Regions from separate parts of the Homo sapiens genome. Here regions 2, 3, 4 and 5 are each linked to region 1. Evidence: promoter capture Hi-C in 16 types of primary human blood cells and fetal thymus (Javierre and others, 2016). All regions are on one chromosome and are shown on one strand. Each heading gives the region's core, a stretch centred on a gene start or on the middle of the fragment in contact. The rest is flanking DNA. Distances are from core to core; before and after follow the strand shown.

The links. The method cuts DNA at HindIII sites, captures the fragments that hold promoters and counts their contacts. A CHiCAGO score of 5 or more calls a contact.
Region 2: a contact is called between a fragment that was not itself captured here and the fragment with the promoter of SNX14 in region 1, in 1 of 17 cell types (monocytes). The highest score is 5.4, in monocytes.
Region 3: a contact is called between a fragment that was not itself captured here and the fragment with the promoter of SNX14 in region 1, in 9 of 17 cell types (non-activated CD4 T cells, naive CD8 T cells, M0 macrophages and 6 more). The highest score is 14.7, in non-activated CD4 T cells.
Region 4: a contact is called between a fragment that was not itself captured here and the fragment with the promoter of SNX14 in region 1, in 3 of 17 cell types (total CD4 T cells, activated CD4 T cells and naive CD8 T cells). The highest score is 7.2, in total CD4 T cells.
Region 5: a fragment that was not itself captured here is called in contact with the fragment with the promoter of SNX14 in region 1 in 1 of 17 cell types (total B cells); the score reaches 5.6 in total B cells.

What each region holds. Positions count from the first base shown.
Region 1 is chr6:85,592,468-85,595,327 of GRCh38, forward strand. It overlaps SNX14 (sorting nexin 14), which reads right to left and starts at 1,391. Exons shown (of 29, transcript NM_153816.6): 1 at 1,112-1,391. The coding sequence starts at 1,251. RefSeq lists enhancers at 1-467, 468-1,051, 1,052-1,635, 1,084-1,253, 1,564-1,683 and a silencer at 1,314-1,533. The HindIII fragment of the contact is 2,215 bases long and covers 654-2,860 here.
Region 2 is chr6:87,714,559-87,717,418 of GRCh38, forward strand. No RefSeq gene overlaps it. Among named protein-coding and RNA genes, the nearest start is that of AKIRIN2, 14 kb to the left of the region's middle. The HindIII fragment of the contact is 6,779 bases long and covers 1-2,860 here.
Region 3 is chr6:87,695,759-87,698,618 of GRCh38, forward strand. All of the region lies in intron 1 of AKIRIN2 (akirin 2), which reads right to left. Among named protein-coding and RNA genes, the nearest start is that of AKIRIN2, 5.0 kb to the right of the region's middle. RefSeq lists an enhancer at 2,731-2,860. The HindIII fragment of the contact is 2,873 bases long and covers 85-2,860 here.
Region 4 is chr6:87,679,136-87,681,995 of GRCh38, forward strand. AKIRIN2 (akirin 2) reads right to left here. Exons shown (of 5, transcript NM_018064.4): 2 at 2,485-2,628. Among named protein-coding and RNA genes, the nearest start is that of AKIRIN2, 22 kb to the right of the region's middle. The HindIII fragment of the contact is 6,659 bases long and covers 1-2,860 here.
Region 5 is chr6:87,606,153-87,609,012 of GRCh38, forward strand. ORC3 (origin recognition complex subunit 3) reads left to right here. Exons shown (of 20, transcript NM_012381.4): 6 at 1,521-1,672. Among named protein-coding and RNA genes, the nearest start is that of ORC3, 17 kb to the left of the region's middle. The HindIII fragment of the contact is 186 bases long and covers 1,308-1,493 here.

The DNA of each region.
Region 1 (2,860 bases), core at 141-2,640:
AGATTTCTTTCCACCAAAAGCAAATCTGGTGTTAATTTTAATGGAAAAGTCTCCTCTACTACCTATTGCATCGCAACAATTTCTTGAAATAGTAAAATGAAGTAAAACAAGTTTATTTCGGGGGCAGAATCTTCTGATTTCAAAATGTCAATTGAATTTATCAATTTTAACCTTTCGGAATATTTCAGGTTTTTTTGGGGAGGGTGGCATCAAGTCCTCTTAAGAATATTATAGGGATGTGGCCGGGTGCGGTGGCTCACGCCTGTAATCCCAGCACTTCGGGAGGCCGAGGCAGGCGGCTCACGAGGTCAGGAGATCGAGACCATCCTGGCTAAAACGGTGAAACCCCGTCTCTACTAAAAAAAAAAAAAAAAAATACAAAAAAATTAGCGTGGTAGCGTGGTGGCGTGGTGGCGGGCGCCTGTAGCCCCAGCTACTCGGGAGGCTGAGGCAGGAGAATGGCGTGAACCCGGGAGGAGGAGCTTGCGGTGAGCCGAGACCGCACCACTGCACTCCAGCCTGGGTGACAGAGCGAGACTCCGTCTCAAAAATAAAAAATTCTAAGGATGTTGGGACGGGTACCACTTTGCTTTCTGATTTCTGTCCAACAAATCTTTATGATCGTCTGTTTTATTCAACAATACTGCGGGAAAAGCTTCAGCTGCAAGCTGAGGGGGTGGGAGGTGGGGAGATGGAAGAACGCGCTGCAGGTGTGCGGATTCTGCCTAAAATTGCGGCTACGAACTGGACCTTGAACACTCCTCCGTCAGCTGACTTGACTGCCTGTGTACAGTCTCAATTTGAGCCGACACACGGATTTCACTTTTGAAAAGCAACGAAGATGAAGAACTCGTTTTGAGAAATGGATGAGAAAAAGGTAGCTCAGGAGACGAAGCCTCGGGAAAGGAGGCAATCAACCCCACCCCACCGGCCTGTGCTTCCGGCCTCGACGCTCCGCCGTGCTCCCCGAGGCCGCTCCTCTGCGGAGCTCGCTCTCCCCACTGGTCCCCAGTCCCGCAGCTACGCGGCCTCCGCACGGTTAAGCAGCACGGGCCGGGCGTCTGCACCTTCGGAGAAAAGCCGCCGCCCAGGCTCCGCGCTGCGGCGTTACCTGTTAAGAAGCAGGGAGGCGGCGCTGAGACAGAGCAGCAGGAAGCAGAACAGCGGGTACTGGCGGCAGATCTCGCGTCCCACGTCCAGTCGCAGCCGCTGCTTCAGCTTCTGCCCCATCGTCCGCACCCAGGGCACCATCTCCGTAACGGCGAGGCCGAGACTGCGCTACTGGCTGAGGCAGAGGTCAAGGCGACCCCCCATCCACACCTCGCGTCCCCGCCCCACCGACTTGGCGGCGCACACAGACGCCTACCGGCAGTTAGCCGCCGCAGGCTGAGGTCGCGTCCGGCTGGGCCCAGCCCCACGCCCCCCGCCGCGCGTGCGCGGCCGCGGTCCCCAGCCGACCAGAGGAACGGCCGTAGAACGTGCCCGAAGTCGTCACCCAGCGCAAAGCCTCTAGCGTCTCGCCGCTCCGCCCTCCTGGCCGGAGTAGCGCGCAGTCTTCCGTGGAAACTCTGACAACACTGGCGACCGGCCATTTCCGGAAATCAAAGGACAGCCCCAGCACCCAGTAACTGCCTGTATTGCGGAGGAGAGGGAAGAAGGTTGTAGGGAGCCCGGAAGAAACTACAGCACCCCCGTAGCCGCCGGGCGCTGCCTGAGGGGCAACCGGAGCTCGTGGAGCCCGCTGGGAACTGTAGTCTTCGTGACACGAACCCGCAGAGGGATGGAGCGGGTGGTAGCGCTTCCCCGACCCCGCAACGCTCCGCGCCTCACCGTACACTCGGCTCCGGGTGGGAGCAGGTCCGAGCTTTGCGTGACGCCTAAGGGAGAGGGGGATAGGAGGACGCCTTTGAGTCGGTATTTTAAAAGGGGTGTGTTGGGGGCTGGGGGGGTGGCGAGTAAAACAGCCCTAGAATAAAGACTACAACTCATCAGGCCGCCACCCCACCAACAAAATCTCTTTTGCGCGCTCACGGGCAAGGGTAGAGCTCAATTCACGCCGGCTCCGGGAGCCCAACCAAAATCCGAGTGCTTGGAAGAGGCAGGTTGGCAGATTAGGTAAAATCCCTCTTATAGAGTCTCATGGGGTTTTCCCTTTACTAATTCATCACATTTCTAAATTTTTTTTTCTGTATTGTCCGCTACAGTGAGAGATGCAGGAAGACTATTATCGCGAAAATTTACTTAGGCGGTACAGACACTAAGCACTTTCATTTGACCTTCATGCATTCACCCCATGGTGTAGGTACAGTACTATAGTTTCAATCATTATACAGGCAAATTACTGAGACAGAAAGGAACTTAGGATCATAAAACTAACAAAGCCGGAATTTGAACACGTTCTAAAGACAGAGCCTGTGCCTGTCATCTCTCTTTCCTAGGATCTTATCCTTCAAAGTGGGGAAACAAATGTTTTTTAATGATGTATGTAGTTTCATGAATATTTTCCCGTATTACAAAAACATGGATCTTTAATGATGCATTATTATCCTTTATCAGAATGTACCATCCTGTTCCATTATTGCTAACCACTAAAGTCCATTGATATTACCATCCTTGATGATAAACCTATGCACATTTCTAATTATTTAGAATCAACTTTAATACAATTACTGGGTCAAAGGGTAAAAACAAACATTCTTGATACAGTCAAACTGCTTTGTAGAATGGTGGTACCAACTCCACAGTGGTGTATAAAAGTAAACAATTTCACTGATCCTCACGATTAGCTATTATTGTCTAAACATCACAAATACACTTTTCTGTTTGTGACTAAACCATTTAAAAGACTACAGTGTAACAT
Region 2 (2,860 bases), core at 213-2,712, 2.1 Mb after region 1:
TCATTTAACCCCTGTGGGAAAAGAAAAGAAAGAATTAGAAAACATAACAAAAGCTACATGGCAGAGTCCTTACATTGTGCCAGGCATTGAGCTTAGTGCTTACATGCATGATCTCACTGTCTCCTAAGTGTGGGGTGATACAGGAAATGGCTTCAGGTAGTTGATGGTTTAGTGGCACATGGGCTAGGCAGAAATCAAATTGCATCACATATTGAGAAAGCCGTTCCTTCTTTAAGCCTCTGACTCCTAATTACACCTGGCAGAGAGTCTCCCTTTGGTGCAGGTCTTGAATGACTTTCTAACATCAACTTACTTCCTTTTGTTATAAAAAAAGAGTAGGCCTTAGGCTTAACACTTTCTCAGGCAACAAGTTCTTTAATTTTCATTGCACCTTCAATTTAGGGCAAGTAGTGTTGCATTTATAACAGTGATATAAAATTTCCTTTTAAAACATTTATTGAAGTTTAAAAAGTGAGCAACAGAAAAACACCAAGAGGATAATAGTATAGGTCTTACACGGACTTGGCAAATGTTATGACTAAGGAAGTTTGGAAAATACTACATTATCTTTCAAAAACTCAGTAAGGTAGGTACTATTCTCTATTTCTAGGTAGGAGATCTGGAATTTAGAAAAGTTCAGTAACCTTCCCAAGGCCACTCTGTAGGAAGTTGAGGAGCTGAGCTTCAAACCTGGAAGTGTCTGCTTCCAAAATCAGTGCCCTTGACCATGTATTGCCTCCTTAAGATGATGACTATGTATGTTTCCTGCCAGGACTAGCACTCCAGACTGCGTATATGTCATGATTTGAAAGAACAGTTATCAAACAGTTATTAAAGTGTGGTCCTTTCAGGCGGTCCTCTGGGTAAAGGTATTTTCACCAAATACTAAGATGTCATTTGTGTCTTTCACTCGTTTGCTCACCAGTGTATCGGGGAGTTTTCTAGAAGCTATGTGACATGTGATATATCACAACACATTGAGTACAGAACCACAGATGTGAATCCAACTGTCTTCTCTTATGCTGGACATTAAAAAGACTTGCAGAAACATACATGATGCCATTCTTCTCAGTAAATCTTTTTTGTTTGTTCATTTGTTTTGGAAAACACAGGTTTTTTTAAAGTCATTTTTGTTAACATGTCATGGGTTTATTGTTATTTTTAAATGAATTAGTAAATACTTGAAACATTTATCCATCTTAATTTCTAAAACAATAAACATCAATACAATATAGCCCACATAAACAAGTTTTTGGGGGTTGTCAAGAACATAAAGGGGACCAGGTGTGGTGACTCACCCCTATAATGCTAGTGCTTTGGGAGGCCAAGGCAGCAGGATAGCTTGAGCCCAGGAATTTAAGACCAGCTTGGGCAATATGGCAAAACCCTATTTCTACCCAAAGTACAAAAATTAGCTCTGCATGGTAGCACTCGCCTGTGGTCCCAGCTACTTGGGAGGATGCGGTGGGAGGATCACTGGAGCCCGGGATGTTGAGGCTGAGTGAGCTGTGATCATATCACTGCACTCCAGCATTAGTGACAGGGCAAGACCCTGTCTCAAATAAATAAATAAATAAGTAAATAAAAAGAATGTGGCTGGGCGCGATGTCTCATGCCTGTATTCCCAGCACTTTGGGAGGCCGAGATGGGTGGATCATTTGAGGTCAGGAGTTCAAGACCAGCCTGGCCAAGATGGTGAAACCCTGTCTCTACTAAAATTACAAAAATTAGCCAGTCGTGTTGGCAGGCACCTGTAATCCCAGCTACTCAGGAGGCTGAGGCAGGAGAATTGCTTGAACCTAGGAGGTGGAGGTGGCAGTGAGCCGAGATCGCACCACCGCACTCCAGACCGGGCAACAGAGCGATACTCCATCTCAAAAAAATAAAAAATAAAAAAGGCTGGGTGCGGTGGTTCACGCCTGTAATCCCAGCATTTTGGGAGGCCGAGGCAGGCGGATCACCTGAGGTCAGGAGTTCAAGACCAGACCGACCAACATGGAGAAACCCTATCTCTACTAAAAATACAAAATTAGCCGTGCGTGGTGGTGCCTGCCTGTAATCCCAGCTACTCAGGAGGCTGAGGCAGGAGAATCGCTTGAACCTGGGAAGCTGAGGTTGCAGTGAGCCAAGATCATGCCATTGGGCTCCAGCCTGGGCAACAAGAGCGAAACTCTGTCTCAAAAAAAAAAAAAAAAAAAAAAAGAGAGAATGTAAAGGGGTCTTGGGTACAAAGTTTCAGTTAGGAGAAATAAATGATAAGTATTTAAGGTGACAGATATGTTAATTAGCTTAATTCAGTCATTCCACATTATATACATATATGATAACATCACTGCGTACCCCATCATTATATAAAATTATAATTTGTCAAAGAAAATTATTTTATAATTTAAAATAAAAGAAAAAAGTGTAAAAAAGTCTTAAGATGAATATGTGATAGAATAATATTTTTAATAATTAATGGTAACTTTTTTCTCCCATATTTCCACCCTTCTTTTTCTCTCCCACTCCATTCCATTCAAGCATGTATTCCTTGCATCACATTCGAGCACGTGATTCATTGCTTCAGAAGAGGAACATTACCAAGTGGAAAGCAGAAATGGTTTCTAGCTTTTGTGTTTCCAAAAAGCCTAAACCTATTAAGCGAATTATGCCCAGTGCTTTGAGGCAGTAATAACAAAATGGAGCAAGTGCCACTGAGAAAAAATAGCAGCAGTATTGAGAGAGGGCAGCTTTCCCAGGACTAGAAAAATATTTCTAACTTCCTGAGAGTGGGTGTAGGGAAGAACAAAGACAAGAGGGAGATTAGGGGATCAAAAACGAGAGGACTGGGCTGAAGAGGCCAGGAAGACAGAAACCA
Region 3 (2,860 bases), core at 271-2,770, 2.1 Mb after region 1:
GAGAAAAATCTCTTTTCAAATAGGAAAGATACTCACAACTGGGCACTTCCACTGAAGCTTTTATTCTCAATCTTTCAAAACGAAAGCTTTCTATCACTGTCTTTCTAGATCTATCAAAACACTTAGCAGAAAAAACCTGCCGGGCACAGTGGCTCAAATCTGTAATCCCAGCACTTTGGGAGGCTGAAGCGGGCAGATTGCTTGAGCCCCAGGAGTTTGAAACCAGCCTGGGCAACATGGTGAAACCCCATCTCTACAAAAAAATACAAAAATTAGCTGGGCATGGTGGCACATGCCTGTATCTCCAGGTACTTGAGAGGCTGAGGCAGGGGGATCATTTGAGCCCAGGAGGCAGATTGCAGTGAGCCGAGATTGTGCTGCTGCACTCCAGCCTGGGACAGAGCAAGACTGTCTCAGAAAACAAAAACAAAACAAAGACCCGATTAGTATGTACTACATTCTTTTTCCAATAAAGCCATTAAAAAACTGAAGAAATTTATATTATTCTCCTTTACATCTCAGGTTATGTCTCCGTGGCAACCATAGTGAATAGTACCTTCCACACCTAAAGAGGGGCTAACCTCTAATCTAGCCATGTTTAGCCTATGTGTTGCTGTGCTCAAGTTAGGCTTTATTTTCCTACCTTAATAAAAAAGCCGGGAGCTGGGCGCAGTGGCTCACGTCTGTAATCCCAGCACTTTGGGAGGCTGAGACGGGCAGATCATGAGGCCAGAAGATCGAGACCATCCTGGCTAATACGGTGAAACCCCATCTCTACTAAAAATACAAAATATTAGCCAGGCATGGTGGCGGGCACCTGTAGTCCCAACTACTTGGTAGGCTGAGGCAGGAGAATGGCGTGAACCCGGGAGGCAGAGCTTGCAGTGAGCCGAGATTGTGCCACTGCACTCCAGCCTGGGGGACAGAGTGAGACTCCATCCAAAAAAAAAAAAAAAAAAGCCAGGGAGGCCAGGCGCGGTGGCTCACGCCTGTAATCCCAGCACTTTGGGAGGCTGAGGCAGGTGGATCATGAGGTGAGGAGTTCAAGACCAACCTGACCAACATGGTGAAACCCCATCTCTTCTAAAAATACAAAAATTAGCCGGGCGTGGTGGTGTGCGCCTGTAATCCCGGCTACTCAGGAGGCTGAGGCAGGAGAATCTCTTGAAACTAGGAGGTGGAGGTTGCAGTGAGCTGAGATTGCGCCACTGCACTCTAGCCTAGGCGACAGAGTGAGACTCCGTCTCAAAACAAACGAACAAAAAAAAAGCCGGCGGCACAGGCTCACACCTATAATCCCAGCACTGTGTGAGGCCAAGGCAGTTGGACCACCTGAAGTCAGGAGTTCAAGACCAGCCATGCCAACATGGTGAAACCCCATCTCTACTAAAAATACAAAACAAAATCAGCCAGGTGTGGTGGCGCACGCCTGTAATCCCAGCTACTCCAGAGGCTGAGGCTCGAGAATCGCTTGAACCCAGGAGATGGAGGTTGCAATGAGTTGAGATCATGCCACTGCACTCCAGCCTGAGTAAGACTTTGTCTCAAGAAAAAAAAAAAAAAAAAGCTCTATATTAGTAATGAATACAACTGCAGTTTTTAATGGCCATAAACTTACAGGATTCTTAAATGCATAAATCACAGAAATATGCAGTAACTGCAGCTACATACACAGTCCTAAATAGAATATCAGGTTTAAGACTCAAAGTACAAAGACCATTAAAAACATTTATTTGCCAAATCCAGTGAGAAACTAGGAGCAACTTAACAGCTGTCTAAATAACCACAAAATATTAAAAAATACTTCTGGCTCAATGTAAATGACATCTGAAGAGAGATGCTGCCTCCTCCAACAGACGTCTCATTTGTTCGCCTAGAACCATTTATATTTCATTGAAGCCAGCTGGTGTCTCCGTTTGCAGGCATGCATCAATGTCTGGTGAACAATCTATGTTCCTGTAAACCCTTCCCCATTCACAAGCTGCAGTTTCCATTTTTAATGGCAAGTTTCCAGCAAGTACAATGAGTTCTTACAAAGGAACTTAACTCTTCACAGAATTCAATTCCTAAGGCAGATTAATGGTACCAAGCCATAAACAATGTGAATTAATGTGCCTAACAAACTCACAAATACATTAACATTCACAGAAGGGTATCTTCAGACCATTCATTCACTACATAATGAAAACAATGTGCTGGATTTGATTGACGGTCTCTTATAATGTTGCAATATTTTGGTTTTATTAAAATTCTTTCTTGGGAATGTCATGACAATCTTTTGGCTAAATGGTAGTATTATGAGATGTTTCAAAAACCAATAGTAAAGCATACTTTGGTTTTCAACTAACTTACCAGGGTAAGTATTGATGCAGCTACTAGAGGCATTCATTTCACCAACGATATTCAATGCTTCTGCTCCCCCTCCCCTTACTTCCACTGATCACTTTTCCTTTTCCATACCCAGGGGTATTATAAACCTCACTGCTGACACCCCACATGAGGGTAAGCAAACTTTTTCTGTAAACACCAGAGAGCAAATATGGAGTTTTCGGGGCAATATACTGTGTGTGACAACTATTAAACTCTGCCATCGTCACCTGCAATGAACAATACTTAAAAAAAAAAAAAAAAGAATGAGCACAGCTGTGTTCCAATAAAATTTTATTTATGGACACTGAAATTTGAATTTCACATAATTCTCACGTGTCACAAAATAATTCTTTTGATTCTTTTCCAACCATTTAAAAAATGTAAAGAACATTCTTAGCTCTCAGGCTACACAAAAATATGGCTATACTTTGTCAACCATCCCTAGACCCTGAACAGCATTTCTGAATTAGTAACACTTAGGTGTCCTAAA
Region 4 (2,860 bases), core at 261-2,760, 2.1 Mb after region 1:
AGAAAAAAAAAAAAAAAAAGAAATTTCATGTTGGCACAATAAATTTTTATGTTTAAAAAAAGAAGGTACAGCATGAATCCTTTTTAGAAAAGATTAAAAAACATTCTGGAACCTAGCTTGTGTGGTGGCTCATACCTGTAATCCCAGTACTTTCTGGGAGGCCGAAGCAGGTGGAACCCTTGAGCTAAAGGCCAGCCTGCGCAACATGGCAAACCATGTCTCTAATAAAAATACAAAGATTGGCTGGGAGTGGTGGCACGTGCCTGTAGTTCTAGCTACAGGCTAGGCTGAGGTGGAGGTTGCAGTGAGCCAAGATCTCACCACTGTACTCCAGCCTGGGCAACGGAGTGAGACCCTGTCTCAAAAACAAAACAAAACAAAACAAGACATTCTGAAATCTACTTTGCTGGAGAAGCATAAATGATTCTAAAGGTTTTTGAACTCATTGACCACTAATTCCCATTAAGTTAACAACAATTCGCATGGAAAAATAAGCTCAAGCATTGAGCTGATAATGCTATGCTCAAAACTCTATACCATAGAACTACACTGTCATCACACTAAGAATCCCAAAGCAGCTGCAACATCAGCATCTGTCAATTTCAAATATTCCTTCAGCATTTTTATACCTATTAGGATATTTTTAATAAAAGAGAAAATATTTTGTAGTAATAACATCTACTGTAATACTGCTAAAAGTATTTTATACATATTCAAGTGCACCATTCGTTACCAATTGTTTCTTCATCTCGCTCTGTGAATTTGCCCTGGTACCACCAATATTACTTACTCTCTTAACTTGCTCCTTATAACCTGCATGGCAGGAGCTAGTTAACTATGCTTATTAGAACTGTGCATACCACAATAACAAAGCCCACCAGCTTTATTCCATAATTATCCAAAGCCATCTTAATTTACTTTCACATTCCCAGCTTTGTTACTTAAGACTGCCAGTTAACTGATCTTCTAAGTAAAGTGAGTAAGGAAATAATGATCTTGGTTTCCTGCTAATACAGTCTAGTGCCCAACCCTCACCTCTATGTTTCAACCACTAATACCTGGCCCCCACAATGGGCATGGCAGTATTTAGTTTTGAACAAGTTCATGTTTCCTAATCTAATTTTATTTGACTATGTTATGGTCTTTGATTTTTTTTTTTTTTTTTTTTTTGAGTCTCATTCTGTCACCCAGGTTGGAGTGCAATGGCGCGATCTCTGCTCACTGCAAGCTCTGCCTCCCGGGTTCATGCCATTCTCCTACCTCAGTAGCTGAGACTACAGGCGCCTGCCACCATGCCTAGCTAATTTTTTGGATTTTAGTAGAGACGGGGTTTCACTGTGTTAGCCAGGATGTTCTCGATATCCTGACCTCGTGATAAACCTGCCTTGGCCTCCCAAAGTGCTGGGATTACAGGCATGAGCCACCGCGCCCAGCCGCAAATTTTTTTATTCTGCCAGGTTTTCCTTCCCTTGCTAGGGGGAGGAGAGAAAGCGTTGAACAAAGGCAACTGTTGTCACAAGAAAAGCTATTTTCCTGAGAACTTTACTAAAGATAAGAGCCACTATTGATGGCTCTCTCTCAGCAAAACCTTCAACTTTCTCTTTGCTTCAAGTAGCCCTTATTCCCCGCCCCCCCCCTTTTTTTTTTTTTTAAAAAAAAGGAAGGTTATTTGCAAACATTCCCCCCAACAAAAAGTAGGTAAAAACAGATACAGGATCAAAAAATAATAATAATCCACCTTTAGAAATCTAGCCCAATAAGACAAGTGTGTGAGGCAGGGTATGTATACAGGGATAGTTCTTAAAATACTATACCAGCAAAACTTCTAAGTTGAATTATCTATCATTAAGTGTTCAGTCATGACAAGGTACATCTATACCTAACAAAGGAGCATACAGTATTGTTATTATTTTTTTTTTTGAGACAAAGTCTCACTCTGTCGCCCAAGCTGGAGTGCAGTGGCATGATCTCAGCTCACTGCAACCTCCGCCTCCTGGGTTCAAGTGATTCTCATGCCTCAGGCTCCCGAGGGGCTGGGACTACAGGCGCGTGCCACCACGCCCAGCTAATTTTTCTATTTTCAGTAGAGACAGAGTTTTGCCATGTTGGCCAGGCTGGTCTCAAACTCCTGACCTCAAGTGACCTGTCTACCTCGCTCGGCCTCCCCAAGTGCTGGGATTACAGGCATGAGCCACCGTGCCTGGCCTATTGTTAATTTTTTTTAATAAAGGCTACAAATCATAGTACTTACAGGATGTCCACTTTGGGGATATTATATGCAGGTGGTTGTCTCTGGTTAGTGGGAATCCAGTGGTAACTCCTTATTTTGTACCATATTATTTTTTAAGATGTCATGCATTACTTGTATAAATGTTTTTTTAAAACTCAGAGGAGATACAGTAGCTTAAATGACTAAAGACAACTTGGATTAGACTTTTCCCACTCTAAATAATAAACTTTGTAAATGACAAGAAATGTTATTACCTGGTGAAGCTGGTCCACTGAGGAGAAATGCATGTGGCTGTGCATCAGAAGTACAACACGGATCTGTCTGTTGGAAACTCGTTTCTAAATGTCTTCTCTTCTGCATTCGTTTATACTCTTGTTTTATGTTGTACAGAATTTGTTCTAAAATAAAAAAGTTAAAATTTGGCAAGATAAAAACTTTCACATTAAAAAAGAGGTTGGCTTTCCAACATTATTTAGTAGACCAATCTACCCAAAATACTCCTTTCAAATAATATCCAGAAAACTGACATTTTGGTAGGAACTCATTTCAGCATAAATGGGGACATTCACTTAGCACATACACACCAACTGGAATTCAGCTGTTCAACAATATTCTTGCTGAGCACTGACT
Region 5 (2,860 bases), core at 151-2,650, 2.0 Mb after region 1:
AGGTTTGGGGGCTCTCAGAGTAATTGTGACTATTACAGAACTCTGCCTTCTTTTGCTGTCTTTGTTCTTGACCCATTTCTGCCCTATCAGCTTAACTGCCGGTAGCAGTCCAGGCATTTTGTGAGATGCATTCTTTAACCCAGTGAAACGTTTAATAAGTAGAAAGACTTAGGACAGAAAGCTGAGAATTGGGGAATGAGGAGCTCTTGTCAGCTCAAAAGAGAGTAGACCACATGGGCTCATGTTTCAGCCATAAATCATCTTATTGTCCCACTTTGAAAAGCCACCATGGTGAAAAATAGTCCACTGACAGAGGTAATCCTGAGCATGTGAACCCATGAAATCATAAAGAGTGTTCACACTAATATATTAAAAAGCTTTTTTTTTTTTTCTTTTGAGACAGGGTCTCACTCTGTTGCCTAGGCTGTACTACAGTAGCATGATCATAGCTCAGTGCAGCTTGAACTCCTGGCCTCAAGCAGTTCTCCCACTTCAGCTTCCCCAGTACCTAGGACTACAGGTGCATGCCATTACGCTCAGCTACATCAGCTACATTGTGGGGTTTTGTTGTTGTTGTTGTTTGTAGAGATTGGGTCTTGCTGTGTTGTCCAGACTGGTCTTGAACTCCTGGGCTCAAACAATCCTCCTGCCTTGGCTTCCCAAAGTGCTGGGATTACATCTTGAGTCACCATGCCTGGCCCTAATGTGGTAAAATTTGTTTGGATTAGATTGATAAAAGAGATTTATGTGCTTATATTGCTTTCATATTCATAAACTGATTGAAATTAAGTAAAAGCCCTTAAAGGCATCTTTAAAAATGGCTATATGAAAGATTTATAATCAGTAAAATAATTCATATGACACTTGATTTTTCTTAGGGAACTTGAAAACTGTTTATTTTCCTATGTAATTTAAATACATATTCCTAAAATTTATAGTTTGCATATCTACACATTTGCTTCTGTGACCTTTTTATTATAGATAATATACATAAATGGCTGGGAGCAGTGTTTGATGCTTGTAATCCCAGCACTTTGGGAGGCTGAGGCAGGCAGATCATGAGGTGAGGAGTTCGAGACCAGCCTGGCCAACATGGCAAAACCCCGTCTCTACTAAAAAATACAAAAATTAGCTGGGTATGGTGGCACGCGCCTGTAATCCCAGCTACTGGGGAGGCTTGAGGCAGGAGAATTGCTTGAACCCGGGAGGCAGAGGTTGTATTGAGCCGAGATCCTGCCACTGTACTCCAGCCTGGGCAACAGAGCGAGACTCCATCTCAAAAAAAAAAAATAAAGATAATATACATAAGCTTTGGTTTAGTCTTAGTCTGAATTAATGAAGGTACTAATGAGCATCAGTAGTTAATATGTTAAATGTTACATTAGCTGTATTGATGGTAAGTATAAAAAAACACATTCTACCAAAAAAAAAAGTAATACACTCAGCAAGAAGTTTCAAGAGCTTTGGTTTTATTTTTAGAAGAGGCAGAGATAAGCTTTCTTACTTTTTATATTCCACAGATATGAAACATTTTTTGCAAAAGTTGATCTCACAGTTGATGGACTGCTGTGTAGATATAAAATCCAAAGAGGAGGAAAGTGTTCACGTCACCCAAAGAAAGACACATTATTCAATGGATTCACTTTCCAGTTGGTATATGACTGTCACACAGGTAGATATAAACTGATGATTTTCTCCCAGGAAATTGACGTATGATTGATGTGGCTTGGAATAATATTAGACAGTACTGTTTTGATCTAACAAGGATATGTTTCTGCAGCACTAGGTGTTAATTTAAAAGTAGGTATTTATTTTTTCTAATGCTACTCGAATTTTAAAATGTTCTTTTATTAGTATGCAGCCTAATTCCAGGTAAGTGCTTAGGTTTTTACAAGGACATATTATTTGTTGGAGAATGTCCTCTAATGACAAAAACAGAGCATCAGGAATTGCTTCTGTTGCATGTTCCATCTCTGTGACAGTAACTATAACTTTAGTATATTATCTCTTATGTTCCTCAATGTTTGCTTTGTCCAATAGAACCATGCTGCTAGTATCCACTGTCAACTTAGTTCAATGAAGAATAATCATGTATTTTCTAAAGTCTAATTTGTTTTATGTTTAGAGTTCTTAGGGAATCAGTGTTCTTTAAGTAAAGTATGTTAGACAAACAGATAAGTAAAAAGAAGTTCCATTCTACCATGACAGTCTGGTGAAAAATAATAACCTAGGTTAACACTAGGTAATTGCGTCATAAAACCATAGTCTTAGGTTATGGTGCTGTGTAGCCAGACAGTATGGGAAAAAAAATACTGTGGTTACATTTTCCAATCAACATTTTTGCTGAAATCATCGTAAGTGAAGTTTCATTTTGCTTTATATAGGGACTAAACTACGTCTAATACTTACCATAATACCTGATTTGCTCCACAATTTTAGACTTTCCAGATAAAATGCTACTTTTGGTTTATGTCAGATATCTTTTTAAAAATTGAGATTGGACCAGATGATACCTAGTATCCATTTCAGGCTTGAAATTTCACAGTGGCAGAGTAGCAAGCACTACTATTCATTATATTTTTTTCATTAAAAATACTAGTTCTCACTATAAAGCAAAGCAGAATATAACTTTCTACCAACAGAAAAATCAATTTTGTAGAAAATTTCCTCTTCCATGTTTTTTTCTGTCATTTCCTTAGCAGAAAATATAAATATTTCATATGAGTTATAGATTTTTACTGAACCTTTTTCTTCTTGGTTATTATTCCCATGTCAGACACAGCAAGATTCTAGTAACCTGAGTTTCTATTTATCGTGTGGTAGAAAAAAAATAAACAGTGTTATTGTGAAATTTAAAGAG